2 separate regions of the Homo sapiens genome follow, and region 1 is linked to region 2. The links are contacts of gene promoters, found by promoter capture Hi-C in human tissues and cell types (Jung and others, 2019). All regions are on one chromosome and are shown on one strand. Each heading gives the region's core, a stretch centred on a gene start or on the middle of the fragment in contact. The rest is flanking DNA. Distances are from core to core; before and after follow the strand shown.

What was found. Contacts are between HindIII fragments. The study calls those that stand out against the background at their distance.
Region 1: a contact is called between a fragment that was not itself captured here and the fragment with the promoter of RIPPLY3 in region 2, in 1 of the 25 tissues and cell types used here (mesendoderm cells).

The regions. Positions count from the first base shown.
Region 1 is chr21:37,199,676-37,205,988 of GRCh38, forward strand. TTC3 (tetratricopeptide repeat domain 3) reads left to right here. Exons shown (of 46, transcript NM_001330683.2): 45 at 557-649; 46 at 1,765-3,432. The coding sequence ends at 1,899. Among named protein-coding and RNA genes, the nearest start is that of DSCR9, 5.7 kb to the right of the region's middle. The HindIII fragment of the contact is 4,158 bases long and covers 1-4,062 here.
Region 2 is chr21:37,002,229-37,008,113 of GRCh38, forward strand. It overlaps RIPPLY3 (ripply transcriptional repressor 3), which reads left to right and starts at 4,474. Exons shown (of 4, transcript NM_018962.3): 1 at 4,474-4,648. The coding sequence starts at 4,545. RefSeq lists an enhancer at 3,815-4,315 and a silencer at 4,539-4,648. The HindIII fragment of the contact is 12,344 bases long and covers 1-5,885 here.

The DNA of each region.
Region 1 (6,313 bases), core at 734-3,233, 190 kb after region 2:
ACTGTTAACTGTTTTTCTAGGCATGTATGTATACATGCAGCCCCTTTATTAAAAAGTGAGTTATATATGATACATGTTGTCTTGTTAGCTGCTTTCATTCAGCAGGCTGTTGGGGCCAGCTTTCTATGTCAGGGATTATGGGCTTCCGTCATGATTTTCCTTTTGGCTACACAATAGCCCATTGTGTGGATGTGTTGGAATTTACTACCCTCAACTGTTAGATGATTAAATGTATGATTAATTCACACCATGCCATGTGATTATCCCATACTGTACTTTAGGTATGGTAATCTTCACCTGGGGATCTTCTGGTCACATAAAACAGTTTTTTCTCTGAGGAAATTAGAACTTTATACTTTTCTTTTTGTATTTTTATATTTTTTCTTAAGAAATGCTATTAAAAAATAAGTTGTTTCCTCAGACTGTTTAGCTGTAATTGTGAATAATTTGCCACCCTTTGTGGCAGAAGATGTTTGAAGGCCACTTGAAGGAAGAACTCGTGTCATAAAAACAACTGTAGTTATTCTTTACTATTCAGGTGTGTTTGTTTCCACAGGCACTGGGTGCAAGTTCCTGTGAAATATGCCACGAGGTGTTCAAATCAAAAAACGTGCGTGTGCTCAAATGTGGGCACAAGTATCACAAAGGGGTAAGAGCTCTTTTTGGCCATCCTTACAGCATGCATTGGGACCTTCAAATATTTTCAAAATAAGAAAGGAATTGTTTTCTAGTCATCAGTATTTATTGTGCTTTCAAACTATTTTCTTTGCAAACCTCCCGTGTCAGTGTTCAGTGCCTCCCTGTCCTCACACCAGCTCTGCAGGAAGGGCAGCTCTGGAGACCGTCCTTTCCATCCCTTGTGGGGAGAGGGGAACAGCAGCTCCAGCCACTCGTTAGTGCTGAGATTCAAAGCAGTATTAGTTCCTTGAAAGGTGATTTCTTACACACTTGACTAAATGGAGAAACAGTGAAACCATTTTTTTGACTTAGTGTAGTATATGAAGTCAGTTTAACATTTTAGAGGAGAAAAACTAAACCTAGCTGAGTCCCTTCTGCCTGACCCAGGGACAGTCCTGCTCGTACCGTTCTGGGATCTGTGTGTGAACTATCATGGTGTTCTAGGTACCGTGAGCATTTGTGTGCACCCCTGCTGCTGGGTTAGAACAGATCAGGTCTCTGCCATGGGGATTTGCTAATCCCTTGGAACGGGATAAATACAGCATGCTCACTGAAAGGAATTGAGACCACTTGCCAAGTCTCTGGTGTGGTGTGCCTCCTTGGGTACAGGGTCTTATATTTGGGCTAGCTGACTGTCCACAGCCTCTGCAGTGTGGGCAGCAGCAGCAGGAGTGTGGCGTGCAGGCTGGAGGGCTGTTCCAGAGCCAAGGGCCAAGGCCAGGCCAAGGGATGGGCTAAGAATGAGTGATTGGGTCATAGGGCCGAGAATGCCAGGCTCTGGAATTTGGCGCAGCTGAAGTGGAAGAGCCGAGCCTGGAACCGGGGATCAGGGCAAGACCACCCCCTGAGGCCAGGTTGGAGGCCCAGAGCGCTCAGGATCTGACCCTGAGGTGGGATCGTTTGCGGCTGGGGCTTTGTCCACACTCTGGCCTGAGCGGGTGTTGGTGTCCCTGAGTATTGGGCAGCTCCAGGCCCAAGAGACCAAGGGCAAGTGAGCCACGCCTGCCAAGGAGCCCAGCAGCACAGGGGAGCTAAGCTTCCTCATGGTCCTGAAGGCATCTTCTGATTTTGTTTTCTCCTTTTCAGTGCTTTAAGCAGTGGCTTAAAGGGCAGAGCGCTTGCCCGGCCTGCCAGGGTCGTGATCTCCTGACAGAAGAGTCACCTTCTGGAAGAGGCTGGCCCAGTCAGAATCAGGAGCTGCCTTCCTGCTCTTCTAGGTAGTCACACTTCACTAAAGTGTCATCCACCAGTGTGTTGAATCCGAAGAATGACAATTTTCTACCACTGGTGTAAAAAACAAACATTTGAAGACCCTTGTGCATTGTGTGTCACAAAGCTAAATACATGGAAATCGTTAATATCGCTGATATTAAGTAATTTCCCCACTCTGAGTGAATACTTTGATGATTGCCAACAGTGGCTAATAAAATGACGGCTACCACACTCATGGGTCACTGGGGCTGCGCAGGGCTCTTTGAGGTGGGTGGCTTCTTTTGGAAAGTACTATGAACGTCTCGAAGCAGTATTCTAGTGATAAGAATTCTTAACATAGCCAAGCGCCCCACGTTTGTTCCCCACGTTTGTTCCCCTTTTCTGTTTGAAAAACCTGTTCTGGTAGCTCCACAAGAGAGATGATACTGACTTTTTAAATTTTTTACAAGAGTCTGTATTCCTGATATGCCTATATTTTTCCTCAAAGATTCTGCATTTTAAGGATGGGCATAAGCAAACTATATTTTAATAATTTATAGTTAATGTTAAAATATTGGCTGATTTAGACCAAAAGATTCAAATCTCCTCTTTGTGAAATCCCATCTGCATTTGATTTTTTATTATTTTATGTTCCCCCGTTAGATTGTTTTAAGTGTTTGCTTTTCATCTTTTATAGATGTAATCTGATTTTCAAAAATCATTAACACTTTTTAATTAGTATCGACTAAGACTTTTTCCCCCTGGAATCGAGGCTGTGTGTCCGTCATCCCAGCCCCCGGTTGGAGCCTGCTCTTTGAACTCCGCTGCCTTCCTTAGCAGCTTCTGTCCTCTTCTGTGAGTCAGTCAGCGAGTGCTTGGGATCCGCATCCAGCCGTGCTGAGCACACAACAGGCTGTGTGTGGAAATGGCCACCACCATTCTCCTTCCCCACCCCACCACAAAAAGAGAAGCTGTGTCTTTAGACAACCCTGAGGTATCTGTGTTACAATCGTTCTGTGTTTGATATTTGTGTAAAGTATGCATGCAGTCTTGTACTGTGACCTAAGAACAAAACTGTAACTGCATTAGAAACCATGAAAAAATTAGATATTGTTTTGTGACTTTTAGACAGTGGTAAATATAGAACCATGAATTCTGGTCACATTCCATTTCTCTCCAACATGAAGGATCAAAAAATGTTTTTCAATGTGTTCTTTGTTCCACTGGAAACTTAGAGTCATGAGTTTATGAGCTGATTTGGTCACCTTCCTCTGCCTTTGTTCACTGTGAGTTCTGATGTCTTAGTGACTTAGTTCTTAGAAGCTCACGCCTTAGTTTGAAACAGATTCTCCACGGTGGTCCCCAAAACACTGTCTGCATATCCATAAGAATTGAGCGCTATGGGTGTTAACGTGCATGAGGATCAGTTTGCAGCAGCAAGTACAAAAGGAGAAGAGGAACATCCGTTGAATGAGTGTGTTTTGTACATAACTTCAGATACTTGTGAACATGCCTTATATTTGTCCAACAACTGTCAGAATAAAGAACATTCTAAAATGAGAAGTTCACTGTCACTCTTGTCCATTCTTTCTTAGAGAAGTTTAAAAATGCATTCTTCTGGAAAACTTAGGACATGTATGTCATGCTAACATTTTAAGAGTGCTTTCGTCAGGAAAGAACAGCCACGCCATGCTGTGTCTGAGGAGTCTGACCAGGGATCTCAGGGCGTTTTAGGGCCTGGGTCAGAATTTTCCTTTGTGCCTGCGTAAGATCGACTATAGGAGTTCACACAGAGATGATAGAGTTTACTTCTTAAGGCTAAATTAAGAGATTTTTCATGTGAATACATATAAGGATGTTGAAGATAAATTGCATTCCTTGGTATATTTTTTGAGGCATTTGTGGATTTATGGGCCACTGAGGCTGTCGATGGGGTTTCCTCTATAGAGGGGCTTCTGGGTATGCTGAGCACTCACAGAGTGAAAGCTCATTTGAAGAAAGCTCATTTTCAAAATCTGTCTTCTGTTTTTTCAAGTGTATTCAAAGTATTATCAGTACGTATTTTTAGTCTGATGGCATTTAATTTAATTTAAAGCAATGACTATTCCTTAAGAATTTAGGCCGGCCGCGGTGGCTAACGCCTGTAATCCCAGCACTTTGGGAGGCCGAGGTGGGCGGATCACGAGGTCAGGAGATTGAGATCATCCTGGCTAACACAGTGAAACCCCGTCTCTACTAAATACAAAAAACTAGCCGGGCATCGTGGTGTGTGCCTGTAGTCCCAGCTACTTGGGAAGCTGAGGCAGGAGAATGGCGTGAATCCGGGAGGCGGAGCTTGCAGTGAGCCGAGATCGCACCACTGCACTCCAGCCTGGGTGACAGAGCGAGACTCCGTCTCAAAAAAAAAAAAAAAAAAAAAAGATTTTAGATTAGTTTTCCCTGCTGAACTGCTTAATCTATGTTATGAATAATGGATAGCCTGGTATAAAATTGAAGTGGTGCCCCAGCAATGCAAAATGTTACTACGGTTTTAAGGTAATCTCAAAGACTACAGAAGTGCCCCCACTTATTCGTGATTTTGATTTCCACAGTTTGTTACCCACGGTCAGCCGTGGTCTGAAAATAGGCAAGTACAGTGCAGTACAATAAGATATTTTAAGGGGGAGAGACCACACTCACATAATCTTTACTACAGTGTAATTGTTCTATTTTATTACTAGTTCTAGTTGTTCATTTCTTACTGTGCCTAATTTATAAATTAAACTTCATCATAGATACATATGTATAGGAGAAAACATTGCATATGTGGGGATTGGAATTTTCTGTGGTTTCAGGCATCCACTGGAGGTCTTGGAACATATCTCCCACGGATAAAGGATGTGTGTGTGTGTGTGTGTGTGCAGTCGCAGCAGGTGGTCAAAGTGCTCAACACACCACAAACTGAAGCAGTAAAACTATTTTAGAGTAGTTTTTTAGTCAGATGACTGGAGAAGGGAATTAAAGGAAACAGTAGAAGACACAATAGCAAAGATGGAAGTTCCTTCTGTCAGCCTGAGGTACTTACTCAGGAGGCTGAAAAAGCAGAGGCCGTAAAGTGATAGGATGGTTGGTCAGAATGAGGACCAAAAAGCATCTGCAGTATGACCTCAGAAAGAAAGAAGGTATCAGAAGGAGAAGCTGGGAGGGTATACAGATGAGTAAATTCCTGGTGAAGTGCTCAGCACAGTGCCTGCACACAAACTCGTGATAACCGGAGCTAACAACTAACTGTCACTAAGATTAAGGGCCTGGAAATTGCACAAGAAAGAGTAGGATAGTACAGTAGGAAAGCCGCCGTTAGTTAGGAAGTCCACTTCCTCAGTGTGGCCTGGATTGGAACACGATCCAGTGGTGAAAAGAGCAAGAAGAAATCAGATCACCTCAAAGTCGTTTTGGAAAATAACAGCTTTGTTCCTGAGATCTCCCTGAATTGACTTCAGGAATATTGTGATTCTATAGCAATGGATCATTTCACCTTTTGGCTTTCCCAAATTATCGGACTGAGCAGCTTTGAGTCAACCTTTCCTATCCAGTTTGGGTTGAGGATCAGGGCCCTGTGGTGGGCTCACTAGGGATATGCCCTGGAGCATCGGTGTGGCCAGGCAAGGCTCATTGTAGTGGAGGTGTGTAGTCCAGACTCCCTGGCTTAGGGTGAGAACTGTTACCATTTGTTCCATCATCGCCTCTACTTTTTTTTTTTTTTTGAGACGGAGTCTAGCTCTGTCGCCCAGGCTGGAGTGCAGTGGCATGATCTCCACTCACTGAAACCTCCACCTCCTAGGTTCAAGCGATTCTTCTGCCTCAGCCTCCTGAGTAGCTGGGATTACAAATGCACACCAGTACACCTGGCTAATTTTTATATTTTTAGTAGAGACACGGTTTTATCACGTTGACCAGGCTGGTCTGGAACTCCTGACCTCAGGTGATCCACCTGCCTTGGCCTCCCAAAGTGCAGGGATTTATAGGCATGAGGCACTGTGCCCAGCCCATTGCCTCCACTTTATACTGTCTCTTCCTATTCTCCCTTTAAAGGTGAAAAAAGATAAATATTAGCAAGAATGCAGAAACTAAACAATAGTAAACTAGAAAATCCTAATGAGTCATCCATTAATCAAGTCGGATTGATAAACCATCATGGCAAAAAGAGACTTTTAACTATGTTAAGAAGAATAATTTGGGGGCCAGGGCCTGGTGGCTCACATCTGAAATCCCAGCACTTTGGGATGCTGAGGTGGGCAGATTGTTTGAGCTCAGGAGTTTGAGACAAGCCTGGACAACATAGTGAAACCCCATCTGCAAAAAATGCAAAAATTAGCTAGGCACGGTGGCACATGCCTGTGGTCCCAGCTACTTGGGAGGCTGAAGTGGGAGGATCACTTGAGCCTGAGAGGCAGAAGTTGCAGTG
Region 2 (5,885 bases), core at 3,224-5,723:
ATAAGCTCAAGAGTATTTATTTTATACCTCGAGTTATAAACAAATATTACTTTATTTTGTTGCTCAAATTGTCCCAGCTTTGGCCATGGTGGTCTTATATTGTACTTGGCCGAAGGAAAAAAAAAAGAGAGAGAAAATAGACTGTCTACTGCCTGCAGGTGCTGAGTTTGGTCTTTTTGCTCTTTAAATTTATTTTTATTTTATTTTATATTTATTTTTTGAGACAGAGTCTCACTCTGTCATTTGGGCTGGTGTATAGTGATGCAATCTTGGCTTACTGCAACTTCCACCTCCCGGGTTCGAGCGATTCTCCTGCCTCAGCCTCCGGAGTAGCTAGGATTACAGGTGCACACCACCACGCCTGGCTAATTTTTTGTATTTTTTTTTTTTTAAGTACTGACAGGGTTTCACCATGTTGGCCTGGCTGGTCTCAAACTCCTGACCTAATGTGATCCACCTGCCTCGGCCTCGCAAAGTGCTGGGATTCCAGACGTGAGCTACCATGCCCAGCCCTTCAAATTTATTTTTAGTGGCGCTCACTTTCTTTTTTTTCTTTTCTTTTCTTTTTTTTTTTTTTTTGAGACAGAGTCTCATTGTGCAGTCCAGGCTAGAGGGCAATGGTGCGGTCTCAGCTCACTGCAACCTCTGCCTTCCGGGTTCAAGCGATCCTCCTGCCTCAGCCCTCCGAGTAGGTGGGACTACAGGCGTGTGCCACTACTCCCGGGTAATTTTTGTATTTTTATTAGAGACGGGGTTTCACTGTGTTGGCCAGGCTGGTCTTGAACTCCTGACCTCATGACCCACCCGCCTTGGCCTTCCAAACTGCTGGGATTACAGGGGTGAGCCACCGCGCCTGGCCGTGGCATTCACTTTCTACAGCCCAGGTATCTGACAGGAACTCGAGTCCTGCTTCTCTGTACCAGTTACTTAACCTCTGGGAAGTCCAGTTTCTTAATCTGTAAACTGAGGATAATGCCTGATTTGCAGGGTTAGAGGGAGGATTATAAATTAATGTATGCTCCAGAAAAGACCAAATGATTCTACCTCTGTGAGGTGCCTGGAATGGTCAAATGCATAGATACAGAAAGCGGAATGGTGGTTACCAATGGCAGGGGGTGGGGAATGAGGAGTTACTGTTTCACGGGTACAGAGTTTGGTTTGGGATGATGAAAAAGTTCTGGAGATGGGGGGCCGGTTGCACAACAATGTGAGTGGATTTATTGCCACTGAATTGTACATTTGAAAATGGTTAAAATGGTAAATTTTATGTTATGTACCTTTTGCCACAATAAAAAGTAATATATTCATTGTTGAAAATTTAGAAAACAAGTTTTAAAGCCCCTCCAAATCTTTGGTAATGTCAGCACTCAGCAGGCACTTCTGTTTTATTTGTAGCCTTTGAATATATAGTTCACATCCTATGCATACAGTTTTGTTCTTTCCACATGGTCATGTTTTTCCTATGCTGTCCAAAACTCTGTAAACATATTTTTATTAACTGCATACTATTCTACCGTCATTTGTTTAATCATTGCCATATTTTTGGACATAGTTTTTCAACAGTGTAAGCAGCGCTCTCTGATTAAATACATCTTCATTCCCATTTCAGAATACATCTACAGTATAGACACAAGTAGAATTACTGGGACAAAAGGTGAACTTTCATTTTTGTTGTGCTTTTTTTGAGACAGGGTCTTAGGGTCTTGCTCTGTGGCCCAACATGGAGTGCAGTGGCATGATCATGGCTCACTGCAGCCTGCAACTCCTGGGTTCAAACAGTCCTCCCACCTCAGCCTCCTGGGTAGCTGGGACCACAAACATGTGTCACCACACCCGGCCTGGGTGAACATTTTTATGGCACACAATACACCTTATCAAACTTTTTCATTGCATTGCCACCAGCTACCTAGAAGACACTCATTTAAAAACATCCACACCTAGCCAGGCGTGGTGGTGTACACCTGTAGTCCTAGCTACTTGGGAGGCTGAGGTGGGAGGATCATTTGAGCCTGGAAGGTTGAGGCTGCAGTGAGCCGTGATCATGCCACTGCACTCCAACCTGGGCAACAGGGCAAGACTCTGTCTCAAAAAACAAACAAACAAAAAACACAACGAAAACACCCCTTCTGCACCCAGTTGCCCAGTGTTCTTTCATTTTCTTTTCTTTTTTTAAAAAATTATATATATATATATTTGAGAAAAATAACAGCGTCTCACTCTGTGGCCCAGGCTGGGCTGCAGTGGTGTGATCATGTCTTACTGCAGCCTCAACTTCCTCGAGCTCAGGTAATCCTCCCACCTCAGCCTCCTGAGTAGCTGGGACCACAGGCCCACTCCACCACGCCTGGTTAATTTTTGTATTTTTGTAGAGACGGGGTTTCACCACTCCGGCCAGGCTGGTCTGGAACTCTTGACCTCAAGTGATCTGCCTGCCTCTGCTTCCCAAAGTGTGCAGATTACAGGATTGAGCCACCGCGCCCTGCCCAGTGTTCTTGTAAAACCCCATTCTGCATTTAGATTAAATATGGTACCTTATTGTTGCAATATGGCCCACTAATGTTCTTTGCCTCCTTCTAGCCTCCTCCCATTAATTCCCCCCTCTTAAATGTTTGCCTTTATTTAGATTTAATTATTGTTGCTCAAAATCTTAATTAAAAAAATGTGAAAACACTTTAATGTCTGAAGTTCTTCGATTTTTTTTTTTTTTTTTTTTTTGAGACAGAGTCTGGCTCTTGTTGCCCAGGCTAGAGTGCACTGGCGCGATCTCGGCTCACTGCAACTTCTGCCTCCCGAGTTCAAGCGATTCTCCTGCCTCAGCCTCCCAAGTAGCTGGGATTACAGGCACCCGCCACCACACCCGGCTATTTTTTTGTATTTTTCTTAGTGGATACGGGGTTTCATCATGTTGGCCAGGCTGGTCTCAAACTCCCGACCTCAAGTGATCCACCCGCCTGGGCCTCCCAAAGTGCTGGGATTACAGGCATGAACCACCGCGCCTTGCGGAAGTTCTTCGATTTTTTTTTTTTTTTTTGGAAAGGGAATCTCTCTCTGTCTCCCACGCTGGAGTGCAGTGGCACACTCTCGGCTCACTGCAACCTCCGCCTCCCAGATTCAAGCCATTCTCCTGCCTCAGCCTCCCAAGTAGCTGGGATTACAGGAGCCTGCCACCACGCCCGGCTAATTTTTTTATTTTTAGTAGAGACGGGTTTCACCATATTGGCCAGACTGATCTCGAACTCCTGACTTCAAGTGATCCATCCACCTGCCTCGGTCTCCCAAAGTGCTGGGATTACAGGTGAGAACCACCGCGCCTGGCCTAGTTCTTCGATTTTTTAACATCCATCACAGTAACTTAAATTATATAAAGTAACTACCCCTGAGGAGCCCGGGGTAGTTGAAGGCCCTCCAGCGCCTTCGGTGTTCTGTCGCAGTGCTCTACGTGTGAAACCGCTTTCTCCCACCCTGGCCGTGCGCTGGTGATGGTGGCAGCGGCGCTCCAGCGACGCCCGGGGAAGTGTCCCCAGGGTCGGGCAAGGTCGCTTCTGCTGGTCGGGAGGCCCTTTCTAAGCCTGGCTGGGGCTAACCGAAGGAGAAGCCCGCCGCTCCAGGCTTTATTAAAAATTCGCATTCTTTCCAAGGCCGCCATCGGTGGGAAGGGTGCGCTCGTAGCACCCCTCTTGCTCGGTTCCATTCCTGGCCTTCTGTCTCCTGGAAGGGTCGCCGCGCCCCACCCCACCCGCTTCGCCACGGGTTCGAGCCCTGGCGTCGGGGCGTCCGGGAGCCCACTGTCCAGCACCGAAGGCAAGGCCGGTGCACGCGGACCCGAGGATTCGGTAGATGTCCCCGAAGACCCGCTGCCGCTCTAAGGCGGTGGAAGCGAGATTCTCCGGAAACCCAGGGAATCCGATGCTCGCACAGGACCAAAGCCCGAGGCCGCGGGGACCACAGAGGGACGGAGAAGCCGGGACTCCTCACATCCCACATCCGGCAGGGGAAGCCCAGCAGGTGAGCGCAGGTCCCCCCAGTCCCCGAGGGAGTGCGCCCGACGGAAACGCCCCTAGCCCGCGGGCCTCGCTTTCCTCTCCCGGGTTCCTGGGTCACTTCCCGCTGTCTCCAGCCCGAGCTCGTGGCCCCAATCCCTGGTACCTCCATCCTCTGGTCACCCCTTCTCTGGTGCCCCCTCCCCGACTTTTCTTTGTCCCGTCCCCACCCTTGCCCGGGCCTGCCGGACCCCCCTCCTTGACACCCGGCGCCACCTCCTTGAGCTTTTCTCGTCTCCTCCCCATCCCCGGCTCCCTGGTCCCCTCCCGGAACTTCTCTGGTCCCCTCCGCTCCTCCGACCCGGGCTTTTCCTTCGTACCCTGCGGCCCCCTCCGCACCCCTCACGGAGCTCCTCGGGTCCTGCCCCCTCCCAGCGCTTGCCCGCGCCGCCCCGCCCCCGTTTTTAAACCTGGCGCGCGGGTAGGTGAGCGCGTTAGCCCGAGTGGATCTAGGCGCGCTCGTAGGCCGGCGCCGCAGCAAGGGGCGCGGGCTCCGCCGGCACCATGGAGCCCGAAGCGGCGGCCGGAGCCCGGAAGGCGCGGGGGCGCGGCTGTCACTGCCCCGGGGACGCTCCCTGGAGGCCTCCGCCACCGCGCGGGCCGGAGAGGTGAGGGTGGCCCCGCGCCCCGGTGGACGCGCTGAGAGGCGTGCGCGGTGGCGGTGCGGGGAGCGCAGCGAGCGGGAGGCTGGGGCGCTGCTGAACCCCCGATCCCCAGCGGAGCTCCGGAGCTCGACGGCGACGCCAAGCAAGCTCCTGAGCCGGCAGCCGGGTTCCCGGGAGGGGCGCTCAGTTCTCCGGTTCCAACGCACAGCTCTGAAGTGCGGAGGCCCAGGATGTAGCTGGCCAGGAAAGGGGCCGACGCTTCCGTGTAGAGGAGATCTCAGTTAGCCAGCCGGGGACACTGCAGTCTCGGGCTCCTAAGCCAGCCTTGCAAAGGCAATCTCTCACCTTGCTACTTTCTCGGTAGCCGTTTCTGTTGTCCCTGGATTGGGGGCTCGGCGTTCGCTGTCCCTGGGCACCAACCCTTTTAAAGACAGTAACGTTGTAGGAAATCAAATTAGCCAGGGAGGTAGGGAAGGGACCGGGTAGGCCGGATGGGCCAGGTAGCCAGGCAGGAGAAAGATTCCCTCTTTTTTTTTTTTTTTTTTTTTTTTTTGAGACAGGGTCTCACTGTGTCGCCCAGGCTGGAGTGCAATGGCGTGATCTCGGCTCACGGGAACCTCCGCCTCCCGGGTTCAAGCGATTTTCCTGCCTCAGCCTCCTGAGTAGCAGGGATTACACGCGCCTGCCACCACGCCCGGCTAATTTTTGTATTTTTAGTAGAGACTGGGTTTCGCCATGTTGGCCAGGCTGGTCTCGAACTCCTGACCTCGAGTGATCCAGTAACCTCAGCCTCCCAAAGTGCTGGGATTACAGGTGTGAGCCACCGCGCCCAGCCCCCTTTTTTTGTTTGTTTGTTTTTCATCCTACAACTCTGTAAAATCATCTCTGTAGAATCAATCTCCTTCCGTGACCAAGGTGGTGTGATTGAAATTAACCGGGGACAAAGTAGACAGCTATAGTTGGGGAACCCCGAATTGAACAATTCAGCCAGGATTTGCAGGGAGAGAAATCTCTCAACTAATGGGTTCCCTGATAATTGTGTGAGATTCGGGACCTCCCTTCTCAAAGCTTAACTGGAGACAGAGAACTGGGGACGTAGCAGGAGAGAAAAAACACAAATGACAGTAATTTATCCACAGCCCTGAGAACTCCAGGGAAAGTTCCTGGGGGGTCCGGTGCCTCTTTTTCAGGCAGACACTGGAACTAAGAATAGCTCTCATGGCATAGTTTGAAGGCAGCA